Regions from separate parts of the Homo sapiens genome. Here regions 2 and 3 are each linked to region 1. The links are contacts of gene promoters, found by promoter capture Hi-C in blood cells and fetal thymus (Javierre and others, 2016). All regions are on one chromosome and are shown on one strand. The core of a region is centred on a gene start or on the middle of the fragment in contact, and the rest is flanking DNA. Distances in the headings are between cores, read along the strand shown.

The links. The method cuts DNA at HindIII sites, captures the fragments that hold promoters and counts their contacts. A CHiCAGO score of 5 or more calls a contact.
Region 2: a fragment that was not itself captured here is called in contact with the fragment with the promoter of CFAP53 in region 1 in 1 of 17 cell types (naive B cells); the score reaches 5.4 in naive B cells.
Region 3: a fragment that was not itself captured here is called in contact with the fragment with the promoter of CFAP53 in region 1 in 3 of 17 cell types (neutrophils, naive B cells and total B cells); the score reaches 8.8 in neutrophils.

Annotation. Positions count from the first base shown.
Region 1 is chr18:50,265,219-50,267,918 of GRCh38, reverse strand. It overlaps CFAP53 (cilia and flagella associated protein 53), which reads left to right and starts at 1,424. Exons shown (of 8, transcript NM_145020.5): 1 at 1,424-1,583. The coding sequence starts at 1,515. It also overlaps a transcript of MBD1 not described here. RefSeq lists enhancers at 1,459-1,528, 1,699-1,828, 1,175-2,020. The HindIII fragment of the contact is 1,610 bases long and covers 1,099-2,700 here.
Region 2 is chr18:48,780,448-48,783,147 of GRCh38, reverse strand. All of the region lies in intron 9 of CTIF (cap binding complex dependent translation initiation factor), which reads right to left. Among named protein-coding and RNA genes, the nearest start is that of CTIF-AS1, 60 kb to the left of the region's middle. RefSeq lists enhancers at 711-1,342, 1,973-2,604 and a silencer at 1,970-2,152. The HindIII fragment of the contact is 3,104 bases long and covers 1-2,700 here.
Region 3 is chr18:48,669,324-48,672,023 of GRCh38, reverse strand. It overlaps CTIF (cap binding complex dependent translation initiation factor), which reads right to left. Exons shown (of 12, transcript NM_014772.3): 6 at 1,280-1,355. MIR4743 (microRNA 4743) reads right to left here and starts at 1,424; the gene lies at 1,356-1,424. The HindIII fragment of the contact is 6,169 bases long and covers 1-2,700 here.

The DNA.
Region 1 (2,700 bases), core at 175-2,674:
GAACCAGCAATTCAGGAAATGGAATTCGTATTTAGAAACATACCACATACAAAATCCGAAGTGGGTGGTTTACAAATGATTAAGGAATGCTAATTTACAGTAAATTGCGTCCTTAAGAGGGCATACACATTAGTTGTACTTATTATATGTCAGTTTGACGTAGGTACTGATTTGTTGCATGTGCTCACAAGTGTTCTATGCTCACCCCCACTTTAGAATGGGAGTATCACAGTGTCATTCTTAATTGGCTTTTAGGTATTACCACCTTGCTCTTGACTGGAAATGCAACTGTGGTTACCACCTGTGCTGCAGGTCCGTCCTGGTTCCCTGATTTGTGTTTCCTGTTCTGCCTGGATCCTGATTCTCAGAAACCAGTTACTGGACTTCTGATCCACATCCTGACCCTGGTCCACTGTGACCCTCAGACTCTTAATTATGCTCCACCAGGTCGTGCCACTGCCCCACTAGTCCATTTGATCTGCCCCCATCCTAGGATATCCTGAGTCTAAGCCCTGGTTTCTGCCAATGGCAAATAGGAAGATTTTATTAACAGGTTTTAAAAAATTATTATTATTACTGGTTATTTGGTTTGACAAGGCACTTAGGCTCCCTGAGCTTTGCCTTAGCTGGAAAATAAGGATAGTATTACTTGCTATTCTATCAACCCTGTAAGATATTTGCGGCCACGCGCGGTAGCGCACCCTGTAATTCCAACACTTTGGGAGGCCGGCGGGAGGGGCAGTGGGGAGGATCGCTTGAACCCAGGAGCAGGAGTTCCAGCCTGAGCAACATAGCGGGACCCCCTGTCTCTTCAAAATTTGTTTTTAAATTAGCAGGGCGTGGTGGCGCAGGCTTTGTAGTCCCAGATACTCTGGAGGCTGAGGCCCAGGAGGACGAGGCTGCAGGGAGCCATGATCACGCCACTGCACTCCACCCTGGGCGACAGAGCGAGACCTTGTCTCAGAAAAAATCTGTGAGGTTAAAAGGCTGTGTGTGTGAAAATATCTTGGAAATTGTAAAGAACTACACAAATATAAGGTTTTCCTGTGATTATTACCGTCATCAAGATTAACCTACAGATAGTGCAAAATTTAAGCTTCCCAAAAAATGTTCGCTAACCTTTTTCATACTTTTAGACCATTACAAGATATAAATAGCAAAGTCAACTGGAATTGTAATTAGAGCTTTGATTTTTCTTGGGCTAGAGGTTTTTTCTGCCATTCTGATGAACCCTGGAGGAAGGGAGCAAGGTCGGCGGGATTTGGCCGAGGGGCGGGGTGAGGACTGCGCAGGCTCAGCTTCTCAGCTGGAAGAGGAAGTCCCGAGTGCAGGCGTCTGCGGCCCCCATGGTGACCAGACCGACTTCCGCCCGACCCGCCCACCTCTACCGGCCCCTAATCCCGCGAGGCGCACCATGGCAACCAGACTTCTGCGTCGCGGAAGCGGGTCCCGCAGGTCGCCACGGTTGGGGGAAACGCGGCGGACGCCGCCCCCGTCCCGAAGGGGACTCGAAAATGTACAGCCAGCGGTTTGGCACCGTACAGCGGGAGGTTAAGGGCCCCACCCCCAAAGTGGTGATCGTGGTAAGCACAGGATATGTCTGCCAGACCCTACAGCTTTCTCCATCTCTCCGCACTCCAGGCCTGGCCTATCCCACTTCGGCCCCCACCCGGGGCCTTCTCGAGGGGAACGGGTGTCGCCTGATGCAGTGGGTTGAATTTTGAAAGAAGGAAGATAAGGTCGCTCACCTATCTACCCCACCTCTCACCCACTCATCTCCCTCTGTTTTCATCCTTACAGCCTTTCATCTGCCCCCAAAGTTATAATATTTAGGTTCTGTTTTTGGAGAATCACCACTAGGGATCTTAGGGTTTTTCAGTCTCCAAGACACCGGAAGGATGTCTGTCCCCCATGCAGTGGCGAGTGTGTGTTATGGAAAGGGCACCCGGCCCAGAGACAGATCTGGGGGCAGGGCGGGCCTATGATTTGGAGCTGGTCTTTCACTCCTAGGAAAATCGTCTGAGGAAGGGGAATTAGGTTGTGAGTGGTTATAGCACCCAACGCCTTTCCTGTGCCAACTCAACCAGTAACCATTGCTGGACAGAAGTGTCCCTTCAGACCTGGGAAAAACTCAGGTGCCTGCCTCTAAGGCTGGAGTGGTAGTAGGCCAGGAAAATGTGCTTGCTGCAGAATTTGATGGTTCCTGCTGAGAACCTCAGACACTATTGGTCCATACATGTAGATTTTTTTGTTTCTACAAATTAGTTTCTACCCACCAGAAAACTAACATGTAGGCAGAGTTATTGCTTGAGCCCCTGCTGTGTGCGCAGTATTGTGGGAGATACAGGGGTGGATACAATGATCCTGGAAGGTTAACTCTTTATTGAAGCCTGAGCCCTCCCTTCAAGGAGCTTATACAAGTCAAGTATCCCTTATCTGAAATGCTTGGGACCAGAGATGTCTAGGATTTCAGATTTTTTTTTTGGATTTTGGAATACTTGCATATACATAATGCAATATCTTGGGGAGGGGACCCAAGTCTAAACACAGAATTTATTTATATTTCATTACCTCGAAGGTAATTTTATTTTCCCCTTGGGGATGCTGAATAAATATGTGTTGTTTGCTTGTGTTTTGACTGTGACCCCTTACATGAGGTCAGGTGTGAAATTTTCCACTTATGTCATCATGTGGGTGCTC
Region 2 (2,700 bases), core at 51-2,550, 1.5 Mb after region 1:
GGATCCCAGTTGCTCTTCCCAGCTAAGACATCAGCCTTTCCCAGATAGGAAGGGAGGGACAGTACACCCTGTCATTCACTAAAGGTTAGGACCCAGGACAGGTAAATGTTAATTGGAGATGAAGGAGAAAAACATCTGTAATCTGGGGTGTTCTGGGAAGCCAGGCCTGGGCAGGGGAGAAGGGTCTACAGGCGAAGCTCCCCACTTCCCACTCCTGCCCCATGGGCTCTCTGAGTCTGGTGGCTTGGTAGCCAGTGGAGTGGGGGTGGGTGGTGGCAGCTGCCCCGGGCCACAGGCGTGGGCATTCCTCTTCTAAGCTCCACACTCACACTCAGCCCTGTTTATAAGGCACAGGAGCCAAGGAGTCTGTGTGGCCCCGCCAACTCAGCCCGGAGGCCCAGAGGAGGGAACCCAAGCCGAGGTTGGACTGAACCACATCTCATGCCAGCCCCAGGACCTGTCCGCCTGCAGCTTCCCAGAGCCTCGGGCACCTGACCTGTGGCCCTGTGGGTGCACTGAGGGCCTGGGATCTGGGCCAAGGAGGGGAAAGCGAATGCTGAGAAGGCCTTGTGGGTGGGTGGCATTCATGTCCCCTGGGCGCTGCACGCTTTAAATAGCTCAGCTTCTCTCCCGCTCACAGTCTTGTCACCCCTGCCAGCTCCTGCCTGAGTTTCCACATCAGAGAGGGCTGATTTCCAGGTCAGGATGGGGAGCGGGTGGGGGGACAGGGGGACCTGGCTTCCTTGGGTGGCAGAGGCTCAGGAGAGGAAAACAGAGTGCTGCCCCCATCCCTCTGCAATCAGTGGGACTTTATGCTCCAGGCCAGGCAGGGGCCCTGGAGCTTGATGGGCAAGGGGCTTCATATGGCTTCCCCTGTCTCCCTGGAGAAGTCCATGCCCAACCCAGGCCACCTTCTACTTGAATCTGCAAGCCCATGACCAAACACCCCCACCCAGAGAGCTCTTGGACTTCACCCTCCACGCCTGCCCTGGGTCCTGGTTCTGGCAGGGCTCACTTGGCTGGGCCCGTGACCCACCCCTGCCTCCATGGAAACTTCTGGGTCCCTAAGTCTTGATCCTACCCACCCCACCCTCCTGCCCACCACTCAGCACCTAGTTCATCTAAGGCAGGTCTTTAATCAGCAGCCCCAGCCCCTGCTTCAAAGCAGTTTGAATCAGTACAACTCTTTAACATTTACGTGGCACTTTACAGTTTACAAACTATTTTCACGTCCTTATTTCATGCGTGCTATGCAGAGCAGTTATAAATAATCCCCATTTTACAGCCAATGAGACAGAGACAGCCAGAAATATTAGGGGAAGTATCCAAGTTCATATGTCAAATTAGTGGTACAATCCAGACCGAAACCCAGGCCTTTTACCGCACTAAGAATGCTTCCTCTCCTGCCCCCATGCCCCCTCCCTTTTCTACTGTTTGACAAGGGGGAGAGGAGGGGAGACTAACACAAGACAAGGGGAGGAGAGGGGAGGGCCACGTGTCTTCTCTCCCAGGCCCTGAACCCTGCTGCTGGCTCCATAGGTCACTTTCACAACCCAGAACAAAAATCTCGCTAGATATGGCCTCAGACCGCCCGGCTCCAGCCACCCTCGCCGGCAGACGCATGCAGATACACAGAGAACGGGCTGTTATCTCTCCTCTCCAGCCCGTTTCCTCCACTTCTCAAACAGCAGATTTCTTCCAGCCTGGCTGCCTCCCCTGGTCACCACCCACAGCCACTGGCCCCTGGGGCCCGGCCAAATCCCCCGCACCCTCTTTGCCCTAGACTGTGACGCCGAGTCTCTGCTAATCAGACAGTCGCCTCTGCCCTCCCAGCCGCCGCCCCCAGAGTTCCCTGGAAATGTCCCTTCTGCAGGCCCGGCCCCCGCTGCGGCGCACGGCTTTGTCTGCACACACAGCTGACTTGTGTTTGCAGGGACAGACAGGGGCTGGCGCTGGGGCCGGAGCCAGGAGGCACTAGGAGGGTAGAGCAGATGGGGAAAAACACAAAGTCCAGAGGACAAACTTTTGCAAGCAAACCCTTTGGGGTCATTTGGGAGCCTGACAACAAGAAGAGGGGGGCTCACAAAGCCAGAAGCTCCGTGAAGGCAGGGATGGGGGGGTCTTCGCCTTCTGTGACTCCCCCAGCAAACATATTGGCTTGCTAGTCTTTTGCGATCTGAGTACAGGAAAAATCATGCCAGCTAGGAGGGGATGGGATGACAGAGGAGTCCAGGGAGAGAGGGAGGGACAGATGGGCCTCCTGAGGCTATCAGCACGCCCCCCTCCTTAAGCCCTACCCCTGCACTCTGCCCTGCTAGGTACACAGAAGGAGATCCATAAATGCTGGTCATGCTGAAATGGCCTCTGGCCATCTTGCCCCTGTGGGGCCCTTATTCCACTGGCTCCCCAGCACGCTGCCTCTTGTGTGCGGACCGGCAGGAGGGAAGCCTGGGAGAGTGGCTGAGACAGCCCAGCACACCATGCATGCATCTTGATGCATGCTACATGAAAGGATCCCCCTTTATCAGGCAGAGAACCCAGTGTCCACAGTGCCCCGCCAAGCTCGCAGGGAGGGACACGCATGAACCGACGCGGCAGAGGTGCGTGTGCCACGTGCTGGATAAAGTGTCCCTCACCCTCCCACAGTCTCCCTCCAGCCTTTGCAGTTTTGAGCCTGATTTTGAACTAACACCGGGACAC
Region 3 (2,700 bases), core at 141-2,640, 1.6 Mb after region 1:
AATGCTTTAAAAATGCAGATTCTAGCTGGACACAGTGGCTTATTAAAAAAGCCCACAATGACCTTCGAGAGATAAAAACTACAATGTCTGAAATGAAAAATATACTGAATGGGATTAACAGTAGATTTGACACTGGAATAAAATATTAGTGAACTTGAAGAAATAGCAATAAAAGCTATCCAAAATGAAACACAGAGAGTAAAGAAAGACTTTAAAAAATCAGGCAGAGCTTTGGTGAGCCATGGGAAAAGATGAAGAAGCATAGAATACATACAATTGGAACCCCAGGGTTGAGGGAAAGTAGGAGGAATCGTGGCTGAAAATTTTCCAAATTTGATGAAACTATAAACCTACAGATCCAAGAAACTCAATAAATCCCAAGTGGGAGAAACATGAAGAAAACCACCACACCAAGGCACATCATAATCAAATAGATGAGGTCTTAACTGTATGCTCTATTGTCTCTCATTGATAGGCCCAAGGCATGAACAGAGAAGAAACAAAATGGCAAAGGCACCAGGAAGAGATGAATGGATATAGATAAAATAGCAGGAGAAGAATCAGGAGAGAAGGGAAGGGTGGCACAGTGGAGTGTGGTGGTAGGTCATGGTCACTGGCAGCGGCAGACTCAGTCACTGTGGAAGGTCCACTGCTTTTACACCCCTGCAGCAGGCCCAGTCACACTCCTGAGAGCAGCTAGACTCCTGCTGTTTCCACCAAAAGTCCAGCACTATAAGTATCTAGAGACCTGGATTCACTGAGTGAATCCTCTTTGTCCTGGAACCTGGCCTGATTCCAGGAAAGAGGCCCAATCAATAAAAAAAAGAGCAAGCATAGCAGACACCTGGAGGCCAGCAGGGCAAGTCCACTGTTCAAAAGCCTAAAGACAGCCCCAGCCACATTAGAATCTCTTCCAGGCCTGCCAGTCCCACCTGAACACACCACAGGACACTTCACCTGCAGAGAGGTTTCAGGCCAAGGGACAAAAACTTCCAAGTTCACTGAGTTGCCAGGGCATGGTCTATTTCATCTCTAGGGCACATCAGGCCTGCCAGCAGGGCCTGCAGCATCACCGAGTAGGCTGTCACACACACGATCACAATGGGACACCCTGGAGAATGGCAGGTAGCCAGCCCTGCCTATTACTACCATACAGGCGGTTACACTCCTTGCTGGAACAAGCAGCCAGAAGGAGTGCTTTGGTTAGGTCCTGTCCAGGAAGAGGATCAGGACTCCAGGGGTGGGGGTGGGCTGTTAGAGAGCCTGCCCCTGCACCTACCTGCCAGGCTGGAAGGACCTTCTCGATGTCATTCAGGTTGATGCCATCCCCATCTTCCAGCTTCCCTTTGCCACACCTGGACCAGAAAAGACAGAAAGGCATTGGAAAGATGGCTCATTCATGCCTCCTGTCCCATCCGGCCAGCAGGAGAGGAGGGACAGTCAGCAGATACCTGGTGCTGCCCACCCTCAAGCCCTGCAGGGGCTGTCCCACCTAGAGGAAACAGCCCTAGAGAAGCTGTGTGTGTGTGGGGGGGGGGTCCTCCCGTAATGCAACAGCCAACCTGGAGGGAGGTGGGAGAGGAACCAGAGTTCCCCTTGCTCCTTCCAGGCAGAGAAGCTAAGCTCCTTACTCATCACAACTCCTGTCAAAGCCCATCCACCTTGCCCCATTACACTGAACAGAAGATCAGTGGACAGAGACACCAAGCAACTTTCTCAAGGTCACATAGGCTGGCAGGGGCTAGCAGAAAACCCAATAGGGCTTCCTTCCTTTTTGGCTTGACTCTGGGTCAGTCCAGCAAGCCCACTCAGATAGTCTATGCTTTGTCTTCATGTCCTCTGTGAGTGGGCGTGCCCTCGGGCCAGAGAGGCTGGCCCCAACTCCCTGGCCAGAGGTCTGAATCTTTGGCATATTTAAGGGTGCAGATTCCGAAACCAGACTCCCAGGGTTTGAATCCCCGCTGCATCCCTTACCAACTGGGGACCCTGTACAAGTTGTTTAACCTCTCTGTACTCATTTCATCAAATGAGTTTCCTCATTTGTTAAATGAGGATAATAGTGTCTAACATCTTAAGGTGGCTGGAGGATTAAATTAATGAATGTATCTGGAGTGCTTAGATGCTTAGAACTGTGACAGCCCACAGTAAACGGTACATATATACACACATATATAGTCTAGCTTATATATATATATATATATATATATATATATATATATATATATATATAAATGTTTAGCTTGTTTGTTTATAAATGTGTGTGTGTATATTTCTTGTGTATGTATTATTATCTGTATTTACCATTAAATATATCTTAAACATACACACATATGTTTAATGGTAAATACTGGTAATAATAACAAAATTAAAATAAATAATGAAGTAAATATATTGCTACTACTATGACTACTTTCATTACCACTAATATTGTTGCTGTTGTTTAGGCAAAGAGGCAGGAGGGTGATTAATTAAGGACACAGATTCTGGAGCCAACCCAGCCTCATGCAAATTACTCAATTTCTGGGTCTCCTAGTTGCTTCATCTATTGAAGAGAAGATGGTAACAGTTCCTCCCTCTCTGGGTGGTGGCGAGTTTTAAATAAATGAGGCAAACACTTAGAACAGAGGCTGGAGCATGGCCGGTGCATAGTAAGTATTGTCAGTTACTATTATTACTGGTATTGACTGAGGAATGGTGAGA